Regions from separate parts of the Homo sapiens genome. Here region 2 is linked to region 1. Evidence: promoter capture Hi-C in human tissues and cell types (Jung and others, 2019). All regions are on one chromosome and are shown on one strand. Each heading gives the region's core, a stretch centred on a gene start or on the middle of the fragment in contact. The rest is flanking DNA. Distances are from core to core; before and after follow the strand shown.

What was found. Contacts are between HindIII fragments. The study calls those that stand out against the background at their distance.
Region 2: a contact is called between the fragment with the promoter of GCAT here and the fragment with the promoter of FOXRED2 in region 1, in 1 of the 25 tissues and cell types used here (aorta).

What each region holds. Positions count from the first base shown.
Region 1 is chr22:36,504,524-36,510,106 of GRCh38, reverse strand. FOXRED2 (FAD dependent oxidoreductase domain containing 2) reads left to right here and starts at 3,067. Exons shown (of 9, transcript NM_001102371.2): 1 at 3,067-3,098; 2 at 3,684-4,211; 3 at 5,341-5,583. The coding sequence starts at 3,685. RefSeq lists a silencer at 2,821-3,320. The HindIII fragment of the contact is 18,149 bases long and covers 1-5,583 here.
Region 2 is chr22:37,805,286-37,810,868 of GRCh38, reverse strand. It overlaps GCAT (glycine C-acetyltransferase), which reads right to left and starts at 2,935. Exons shown (of 9, transcript NM_014291.4): 1 at 2,706-2,935; 2 at 712-842. The coding sequence starts at 2,901. H1-0 (H1.0 linker histone) reads right to left here. Exons shown (of 1, transcript NM_005318.4): 1 at 3,437-5,583. The coding sequence starts at 5,324. The coding sequence ends at 4,740. RefSeq lists silencers at 2,831-3,120, 5,475-5,554 and an enhancer at 4,549-5,244. The HindIII fragment of the contact is 28,064 bases long and covers 1,120-5,583 here.

The DNA of each region.
Region 1 (5,583 bases), core at 1,818-4,317:
AAGTGGACACTGTTCTGTTCTGGACACTTGATGGAGTAATTACCCTGCCAGGTATTAATGCTGAGCTTTCTGTAGTATCTAAGCCTCATACAGAACTGTGATGCTGGCAGGAGTAGTACCATTGTAGAGGTGAGGAAACAGGCATGGTGGCTCAAACCTCTAATCCCAACACTTTGAGAGGCTGAGGCAGAAGGATCACTTTAGCCTAGAAGTTTGAGACCAGCCTGGGCAACACAGGGAGACCAGGGCCTGTCTCTGCAAAAAAATAAATTATTAGCCAGTCATGATGCTTCCACCTGTGGTCCCAGCTACTCAGGAGGCTGAGGTGGGAGGATTGCTTGAGCCCAGGAGTTCAAGGCTGCAGTGAGCTATGATCACACCACTGCACTCCAGCCTAAGTGACAGAAGGAGACCCTTTATCAAAAAAAAAAAGGCCAGGTGCAGTGGCTCATGCCTGTAATCCCAGCACTTTGGGAGGCCGAGGTGGGTGGATCACTTGAGGTCAGGAGTTCAAAACCAGCCTGAGCAACATAGCAAAACCCCGTCTCTACTAAAAATACAAAACAGCCAGGCATGGTGGCACACGCCTGTAATTCCAGCTACTTGGGAGGCTGAGGCTGGAGATTCACTCGAACCCAGGAGGCGGAGGTTGCAGTGAACTGAGATCACACCACTGCACTCCAATTTGGATTACAGAGACTCTCAAAAAAAGCTCAGCATTTCTAAAGTTACAGGTTTTTTTTTTAAAGTAGCTTGAAAAAACACAAAATTAATTTTAATGAATCGAACCTCAGCAAGCAAAAGGTTTCTTGAACTGTGTTAGAAGCAGTGGAGAGAAAAAGTGTACTTGGGGAGTTTTCAATGTGAATACAGAGTGTTAAAAAACAGATTAAAGTGGTGTGACTAGTGCCGGGGGTTTCCAGGTTGGACCAGTATTCACCAAATTGCCTCTTGCAAACCATGGCCCTGTCCAACAGGATTAACAGAAGCAAGTGGAAGTGACTCAAGCTCATTCCCTGAAAATACTTTGCATCAGTTTCCACTGCCTTTTTTTTTTTTTTTTTTTTTTTTGAGACGGAGTCTTGCTCTGTTGCCCAGGCTGGAGTGCAGTGGCGCAATCTCAGGCACTGTAAGCTCCGCCTCCTGGGTTCACGCCATTCTCCTGCCTCAGCCTCCCGAGTAGCTGTCCACTGCTTTTATCTGTCCTGCATGGGGCTACCAAGTTGACTGCTGCAGTAATCCTACATTCAGAAACTCCCAGTAGCATCCTGTTGCTTACAATCTAGGTTCAGCCTACTCGTAGGGCCCTACCATACTTGACGAATTCTGTTTAATTTCCCACTACTGTATTCACCACATAAGACCAGCAATTATTTTAGGAACTTGTTTGCCAGCACCCATTCTCATAATCTTCACAACCACTAAGAAACAGACATCCCCAAATTGCATGACTATCAAAACATCTCATATGCCCCATAAATATATACACATATGCCCCCAAAAATTTTTTTGAAAAATTGGCCAGGGGCCATGGCACACACTTGTAATCCCTAGCACTTTGGGAGGCTGAAGCAGGATCGCTTGAGCCTGGAAGGTCAGGGCTGCAGTGAGCCATGATTGTGTCACTGCACTCCAGCCTGGGTGACAGTGAGACTCTGTCTCAAAAAGAAGAAATAAGACATCCCTACTTTATTTTTGGCAAAGTATTCTGCCTGACCTCTCTGGTTGCAATGCTTATTCAACAAATGCTTAAACTTCCGTATGTCAGATACTGGACAATTTCTGCTCTGAGGGAGCTTTTCTCTGATGTTGACACAGACTGAAGAAAGTAAATGACATTCGGCCAGGCGCGGTGGCTCACGCCTGTAATCCCAGCACTTTGGGAGGCCGAGGCGGGCGGATCACGAGGTCAGGAGATCGAGACCATCCTGGCTAACACAGTGAAACCCTGTCTCTACTAAAAATACAAAAAATTAGCCGGGTGTGGTGGCGGGCACCTGTAGTCCCAGCTACTAGGGAGGCTGGGGCAGAAAAATGGCGTGAACCTGGGAGGTGGAGCTTGCAGTGAGCCGAGATCACGCCACTGCACTCCAGCCTGGGCGACAGAGTGAGACTCCATCTCAAAAAAAAAAAAAAAAGAAAAAGTAAATGACATTCTTTGGTAGGTACTTGTAGGCCTGAGAGGTCAGGAAAATTTTTCTAAGGAGTCCCCAGCTACGATTTTTAATTCAAAGAATCTCCAGCCATGCAAATCTGCAGGCTCGCAGTTCTTTCCACCTGCCCTTCCCCCAAGAACACTCAGCCCCATTTCACTGGACTTTGAAGGTTCCTACACTGACTTCGTATTTCTCCCCATGTAAATCTCATGCAGGGGCCACTTGCCACCCCTGGGAAGCCAACCTTCATCATCCAGTTCACGTTATCTTCCTCCTGCCATTTATCTTGCCTCCACTGAGTTTTAATTCCAGGCTCCACTTCCTGTGATTGTAAACATATCCCTTCATCCCTATGTCTCCATTTGACCAGTCAGCTACCAAATGTCGGAAACAATGCCTTGCCCACCTCTCCTATTTGGTGGAAGATTAGGACAGTCGTGTATGTTACTTGGTAAGCAGTACACTGAGTCACTGTAGCAAACGCTTGTTAATTGGCTTATCGGTCCTGGCTCCACCACGCTGGTTTCCAGTCCCACAAAACTGGGTAGGCCAACTAGTTTTAGCGTTTGGCTACATTCATGGAATATGAGAGCTAGGATTAGCTCCAAAAATCACGTGCTCCCCTCCCTCCGTGTAGAGAGGCACCTTTTAAAACGAAGGACCCAGTTCCCCATCCCGGATCTCCAGACCTTCCACCCTCGCGGGTGCGCGCTAGCCCCAGGCCCCTCTACCAGCCCCCGGAGCAGCGAACGCAGCACGCGCGCGCCTCTCCCGCGCTGGGCCGGAGCAGGCAGCCTGCCAGCTGGTCCCGGCGTGCCGCGCGCCGCGCACGTGACCCCGCCCCCTGCCATTGGTCCGGGCGCGAGGGGCGGAGCCGCCGCGGAGCAAGCGAGCCAAGCGCGGCCTCATTAGACCACGGGTTGCAGCCGGAGCGGCTGGGAGGTTCGCGCGTTTCTCAGGGTTCGGTCGGAGGCGGGGAGGCCGGAGCTGCGGGCGTAGGGACCTGGCGGCTCCTGAAGCGCACGCGGGCGGGCGGCAGGTGTGCGCGGCATCCCTGTCACGTGGCCGAAGAGCCTGGGGCGCGCGGACCCTGGCAGGGGGCGGGGCGCACGCAGGCCACACCCACTTCAGGCTCCCACCCGGTCGCTGGAGAGGGGCCAAGGCCTCTGGAAGGTCCAACCTGGAGGGTGGTTCAAAGGGGTGTTGGGCACCCTCAAATTAGGGGAAAATTGGGGAGTACGCTCTCCTTCCCCAGGGTGGAGGTTACTACAATCATAAGCGGGGAGCCGGTGCCCCTGAGGAAGGAGACCCTGAGGGAGATAAGATGGAGGGGCTCGGGATTCCGGGGAGCCCCAAGTCCCAGCTTGAAACGGTGGAGTCCGGGCAAATGAGCTCTGAGGACGGCTTCTGGGCCTGGCCGTGACCCAGATTGCAGTGAGAGTTCCCGCAGGCCCCGCCTCTTTCTGGGCCTCGTGTCTCCCAGCCGCCGGGCCGGGTGCGAGGCCTTACCCCTCTGATCTGCTGCAGGATGGGCCTCTCCGCTGCGGCCCCGTTGTGGGGTCCCCCGGGGCTGCTCCTGGCCATCGCCCTGCACCCAGCGCTGTCGGTGCCCCCGCGCCGGGACTACTGCGTGCTGGGCGCTGGGCCCGCGGGCCTGCAGATGGCCTACTTCCTGCAGCGCGCTGGACGCGACTACGCAGTGTTCGAGCGGGCCCCGCGGCCCGGCAGCTTCTTCACACGCTACCCGCGGCACCGCAAGCTCATCAGCATCAACAAGCGGTACACGGGCAAGGCTAACGCCGAGTTCAACCTCCGCCACGACTGGAACTCTCTGCTCAGCCACGACCCCCGGCTGCTCTTCAGACACTACTCGCGTGCCTACTTCCCCGACGCCCGCGACATGGTGCGCTACCTGGGTGACTTCGCGGACACGCTGGGGCTCCGTGTCCAGTACAACACCACCATCGCCCACGTCACTCTGGACAAGGACCGACAGGCCTGGAATGGCCACTACTTCATCCTAACTGACCAGAAGGGCCAGGTGCATCAGTGCAGGTAAGGCCGGTGCCAGAGCTCACCTGCGGAAGCTGGGACCTTCCCCACACGAACCACACACCTTGATTGGCCAGTAGGTATGGGAGGAATGGACGAAAAAGGGTATTTCGCTTTTTTTTTTTTTTAAGACGGAGTCTCACTCTGTCGCCCAGGCTGGAGTGCAATGGCACGAGGTCAGCTCACTGCAACCTCCGCCTCTCTAGTTCAAGCGATTCTCCTGCCTCAGCCTCCCCAGTAGCTGGGATTACAGGCAAGCACCACCACACCCGGCTAATTTTTTTATATTTTTGGTGGAGATGAGATTTCACGACGTTGGCCAGGCTGGTCTCGAACTCCTGACCTCAGGAGATCCACCCACCTCAGCCTCCCCAAATGCTGGGATTACAGGTATGAGCCACCGCACCCGGCCTTCAATTCTATTTTTGAAACCACTCTGTGATCAAAGCATTCTTCTGCAAGCCGGCAGGATCCAAGTCCCCAGCTGCCCTCCCCTGGATGGCGATCCTCACCAATGGAAGGAGCAGGACTTTGGAATCAAGCCTATCTGTGTTTAGACTCTGGCTCTGCTGCTTTTAGGAGCTCTCAAGCCATGGGCCTGCAGGGCCTGTGCCTCCTCACCTGTAAAGCAGGCCACATACCACCTCCAGGTTGCTTGGAGGAGTCAGAAAGATGGTGCACAGATACACTTAGTACAGGGCCTGGTACAGAATTACTGCTCAGTGGATAGATGTATCTGTCAGAGGACTCAGAAAGGGGAAAGTAGAATGTCAGGTTTCATTTCATCACCAGCAGTCATACCTGGTCTGACTGCTATGTGCAAAGTTAGGTGAATTCTCCATTTCTCATACTGTCATCTTCTCCTCTCTCACAGGGCAAATTTAACCCCCAGTACAGTGCTAGGGAAAATACTGTGAGCTCAGGGAGAGGCAAGGGCAGAGCCTCTCAAGTGCACTGGGATGAGGGCGTAAACAGATGAATGAATGAAAAATGAATGAATGAATGTCCTATTTTCTTTTAGGGGCCGGCGGTTGGAGCCAGGCAGGTGGGTGGGTGGGTCCAGGGAGTGGTTTTCACTTAGTGGTCTTATAGCTAAGAGACTAAGCCATCTTTCCTCTGTCCCCGCCTGCAGCGTCCTCTTTGTAGCCACTGGTTTATCAGTCCCCAACCAGGTTGACTTCCCTGGCTCCGAATATGCAGAGGGTTACGAGTCCGTGTCCGTGGACCCTGAGGACTTTGTAGGCCAGAATGTGCTGATCCTGGGTCGTGGGAACTCGGCCTTTGAGACAGCAGAGAACATCTTGGGTGTCACAAACTTTATCCATATGCTCAGCCGCTCCCGGGTCCGTCTGTCCTGGGCCACCCACTACGTTGG
Region 2 (5,583 bases), core at 1,686-4,185, 1.3 Mb before region 1:
GACCAGCCTGGCCAACATGGTGAAACCCCATCTCTACTAAACATATAAAAATTAGGCCGAGTGCGGTGGCTCACGCCTGTAATCCCAGCACTTTGGGAGGCCAAGGTGGGTGGATCACGAGGTCAGGAGATCGAGACCATCCTGGCTAACACAGTGAAACCCCGTCTCTACTAAAAATACAAAAAATTAGCCGGGAGTGGTGGTAGGCGCCTGTAGTCCCAGCTACTCGGGAGGTTGAGGCAGGAGAATGGCGTGAACCTGGGAGGCGCAGCTTGCAGTAGCCAAGATCATGCCACCGCACTCCAGCCTCAGCGACAGAGCGAGACTCCATCTCAAAAAAAAAAAAAAAAAAAAAATTAGCTGGGTGTGGTAGCATGCCTGTAATCGCAGCTACTCAGGAGGCTGAGGCATGGAGAATCCCTTGAGTCTGGTAGGCGAAGGTTACAGGGAGCCAAGATTGTGCCACTGCACTCCAGCCTGGGTGACAGAGCAAGACTCTGTCTCAAAAAGAAAAAATATATATATAAAGTTCCTTGGCCAAAGCTTTTCAGCAAAACAGAGGCCTGCACTCAGCCTTTCTGCTGCACAGCTCTGAGGCCAACAGTAGGCCCAGGGCTGTGGCTGAGCTGAGCTGGCTAAACCAGCCTTGCTGACTGTGGGAAGCAGGCAGCTGGGGTCAGTCCCCACAACCCCCCACCACTCACTGTGTACCTGGGTTCCACAGATAAAGCGGACAGAGCTGAGGCCAGCTCCAAACTCCTCCAGAGCCTGCAGACCTGCCTGGATCACCTCAGGGTGGCTGCTCAGGCCCAGGTAGTTGTTGGCACAGAAGTTAAGGATTCCTGAGGTGAAGGAGAGGAGATGGATACAGCAGCTCAGGTGGGGCAAGGGCAGGCCTGGAAAGATGACAGTGCCAGGCCCTGGGGAAATGGTCCAGAAAGGAAACAGACCTGGAGTCACCATTGAGGAGGCACCAAATTCAACAGCTACAGAAGGAGCGTCAGTGCTACACATCTTGAAGAGCAAGAAGTTTAAACTTTTTTTTTTTTGAGACAGGGTCTAGCTCTGTCGCCCAGGTTGGAGTACAGTGGTGCAATCATGGTTCACTGTAGCCCCAACCTCCCAGGCTCAAGCAATCCTCCCACTTAACCTCCTGAGTAGCTGGGACTACAGGTGCGTGCCACCATGCCCGATTAAATTTTTTTATTTTTTGTAGAGATGGGGTCTCATTATGTTGTCCGTGCTGGTCTCGAACTCCTAGCCTCAAGCAATCCTCCTGCCTTGGCCTCCCAAAGTGCTACGATTTCAGGCACAAGCCACTGTGCCCAGCCTAAACTCTGGCTTTGAATCACATTCTACCCAAGGAGGAACTCAGCCCTTCCTCACAGGCTTCTCCTGTGCCTGAAGACCACCACTGACTCCTTATCTGACCCCTTGGTTTCCTTGAGGGTTAAAGAAGAGGGCTGGATCAGACGCCTGCTGCAGTCCTGGAACTCCACAGTTTACTTTGCTGCCAGAATCACACCCCCAAAGGTAGGTGCCTGAGATACCAGTCCCCGAATTCTAAAGCCCAGAGTGAACACAGCTGACCTTAGGAGCAAACAGCCAGAGGGGAAAGTTCACACAGCCTGGGAAAGGCAAAAACAGGATGAGAACTTGGGTCTCCTAATTTCCCATCTTTTGACCGGCTCTAAGCTTCCCCTGAGGGAGAGAAGGGATTACCTGGGACCTCTGTTTTACAAATGAGTGCAACAGCACCAAGGGTTCTATGCCTATTTCCTGGGCAGAAGGCAGCTTTGGGAGCTTGTTGATGATTACCACTCACCTGAGGCCTGACACGAATAAGTCAGGTGTAACCACTGGTTAGAGTGAAATGAGGGAGGGCTGGGAGTGGTGGCTCACGCCTGTAATCCCAACACTTTGGGAGGCTGAGGCGGGAGGATCACTTGAGGTCAGGAGTTCGAGACCAGCCTGGCCAACATGGTGAAACCCAGTCTCCACTAAAAATACAAAAATTAGCCGGGTGTGCTGGCACGTGCCTGTAGTCCCAGCTACTTGGGAGGCTGAGGCATGAAAATCGCTTGAACCCGGGAGGCAGAGGTTGCAGTGAACCGAGATCTCGCCACTGCACTCCAGCCTGGGCGACAGAGCAAGACGAGACTCCATCTCAGAAAAAAAAAAGGAAAGAAAGAAATGAGGGAGACCTGGCAGGGCCAACTCATCATGTGATTTCTGTGGCAGCCCTGGGACCCCTTGCTTGCTATGAGTTTACCCAGCAAGCTGTCCTCTCTGGCCAGTCAGGCAATGTTCCAGCTCCAATATTCCAGCGCTGCCTGCAGCTAGCTGGGGGCTTTTGGGCAAGCCATTTCACATCTGTGGATTTCAGCCTCTTCGTTTGTAAAGTGGAATTAGTCATTCCTGCGTCTAGAAGTTAGCAGGAGTTCACGTGCAGCAACAATTGGTAGAGACCTTCACAAAGGAGCCGCTCAAGAAATGCGGGTTTTCTTGCTGGGCAAATCGCCTCCCTCCGTCAAAAGGGTTTAACCAGGCAAGAGTCAATATTAGGAAGCCATAAAGTCGCCCTGAGAGATGCGAAGGGGAACAGTAGCTAAGAGTGTAGGAGCCGCCCACCCCCACCTCCAGGACCTCCATTCCAGCGCAAGCTCGGGAAAGGTCTTGGAACGACTCCCGGAACGGAGCGTTACCTCCGGAGACGCCGTCCACGCGGATGTGCGGCCCCTGACGGGACGTGATGACCCGCTCACTCTTCCAAGTGCCAGCTCCGCGGATGCCTTCCAGCTCCCCCTCCAGAATGCCACGCAGCTGGGCCAGCGCTGACTGTGCGCGGCGGCCGCGGGGCACCCAGAAGAGTGCGGCGCGCCAGGCGTTCCCAGGCCACATCGCTCCTACCTCGCCCGAGCGCGCCTGCCTGCCTGGGAGCCGTGCGCATCGCGGACGCAGCCTGGTCGCGTGGCCGGGGGCCGGGCTCCAGCAGCCAATCGGAGCTAGGGGGGCTCGCTTAAAAAGGCGGGGAGGCGGGCCTAGGACGGGTGGGCGGGGCCTGGCGGGATCCGCCAGGGACCGAGAGGCTTGACTTGTAAGTTGAGACTGCCGAAGTCCGGATGGCAGAGGGGAGGGAAGGGGGCGGAGGAAGTCGCGTCAGGGCCAAGCCCACCAGACTCCCCACCGCATTCCCACGTACTCACCTCTCGGCCGGAAATGGGGTACCCTCTGGACCCCAAAGGCAGAAGCCTAGAAGCCGGCTAAGGCACGTTCCGCAGCCTCCGGGACTAAGGATTCCTGGCTTCTGTCCAGCTCCTGAACCCTCCCCCGCCATTCTCAGGTGCAAACGCCCCAGATGTCCCCACTGCCTGCCCGCCTAACCGCTCCGCATTCATTCTCCAGTCTTCAAAGTGAGGAAAAATACACCGCTCAGTTTCTCCCTTTTCCAATTTATTTTAAAGTTTTAAAATTACAAAGACAGCAAAATTTTCCCGGCACAAGTAACACTTGTTTAAAAAAGGGGGTGGGGGGGGGACGCGCAAGTGCGCGATTTTTCTATTTTATTAAAAATAAGAGAAAGACAACTGTACAGGTTTTTTCTCCCAGCTCCCGGGTGTGAAACTAAGTACTAGCCCTAGATATGTATATATACACAAACACACACATGCACACAGATCTAGCTCTGTAAAACTACTTAGCAAATCCCAAATCGACTGCAGTAAGTCTTACTATCCACTGCCCGCCCACTCCCCCTCCCCCTCCCGCAGCTACAACTACTTATAATAAAGGACTCAAAAAGAGATCGGGAGGTTTTAAGTGGCCGCAGCCCCACCAAACCAAGCAAAGACACCTCTTGTACAGGAGGAACAAAAATCCAGAGGAAAAGAAAAGTCTTCCTAGGACACAATCCATCGATTGCGTGGAAAAACCTAAGTTTCAACAGGGCACACTGAGGCACTTGGCTGACTCCCCACCCTTCCCCTGAAGTTTTCACTCCGGTTTAACAAGAGAATTTGCTGAAGCCACAAAGATCCCCCAATGGCTACATCCTAGCTGACTGGGAGAAACTATGGCTTCTCCCATCCAGCTGTCACTTGGACCCCACTCCCCTTCCCTAAGAAAATAGGGAGGCCGAAAGCGCAAACTAACAAAAATGAGAAGGAAACTGGGTTTGGGCCCCCACTGCTCACCACTGGGAGGTGGAAGTCAGCCCGGTGGCGGTTTTTTTCCCCCTCCTTCCTTTGCCGGCTGGCTGCTCCCTACCACCTCTCTCCTGCTGGCCAAAGGTTCTGAAACTCTCACAACGGGTGCCCAACTCAAAGAAAACTCACTCACCCTAAAGATATTCCTGCTAACCTCACAATTCCTGGGTTCCCTCTCATCTAGCCAGAACAAACTGCCTTGTGTCTTCTCCCCACCCACATCTACCTTCATGGCAAACAAGCCAACAAAACACACAAGCCCCCCCCGCAAATCCCTAACCCCGTAAGTAGGTTAATAGCAAAACAAAATATAAGTACATTCTCATCATTAGATTGGTTGTTGCTGTCCTTGCACAACTGGTTAAGGAAAAATGAATTATTCTGTAATTTCTGAAGAATCCAAATCCTGTCTCTTATAAAGTCAGAACAGAAGGGGGCAAAAGGTGGTGGTGAGCATCAAGAGAGAAAAAAGGAGAAAATTATTTACAGAAAATAGGAGACAGGAGGGAGTGTCCGCAAGAAAAGACTTCATTGTCACTTCTTCTTGCCGGCCCTCTTGGCACTGGACTTTGCTTTGGGTTTCACTGGTTTGGCCTTTTTGGGCTTGGATGCCTTGACCGGCTTGGCTTTGACAGTCTTGGGTTTTTTGGCTTTCTTGGGCGTGGCAGCCAGCTTCTTCTTGGCCTTCTTGACCGGGGTGGCTTTGGGTTTCTTGGTTGGGGCTTTGGAGGCAGCCTTCTTGGGCTTGGATGCCTTCTTTGGCGTGGCTACCTTCTTGATTTCCTTCTTGGTCTTCTTGAAGGCCACTGACTTCTTGGGTTCGTCGCTCTTGGCTAGCCGGAAGGACCCCGAGGCCCCCACCCCTTTGGTCTGCTTGAGGACACCGGTGGTGACCAGGCGCTTGATGGACAACTTGATCTGCGAGTCAGCGTTCTCACCCACCTTGTAGTGGCTCTTGATATACTTCTGAATGGACTGGCGCGAGGAGCCAGCGCGGTTCTTCTCGGCCTGGATGGCAGCCACGATCATGTCTGAATACTTGGGGTGGTCTGTGGACTTCTTGGAGGCCTTGGCCCGCTTGGGCTTGGCCGCAGGGGCGGACGTGGAATTCTCGGTCATGGTGGCCTGTCTGGTCCGGCTGTTGAAGGCGCCTTCCAAAGGGCCAGCCCTCGTCGGAGGCTGAGCAAAGCCTGCCTCGGGATCTGCTCCTGAGCCCCTGACTACCGGGCCAGTCTGGAGTGCGGCTCCCGGGGATGCGAGCGAGGAGTCGCTGCTTTTCCTCCCCGGCTCGGGTGTCGGGAGAGCTCGCCGAGCCGGCTTTGCGAGGCCCAGCCCCGCCGGTCTGTCGCTTGGTCTCGGCACCGGGCTCGGGCTCTGC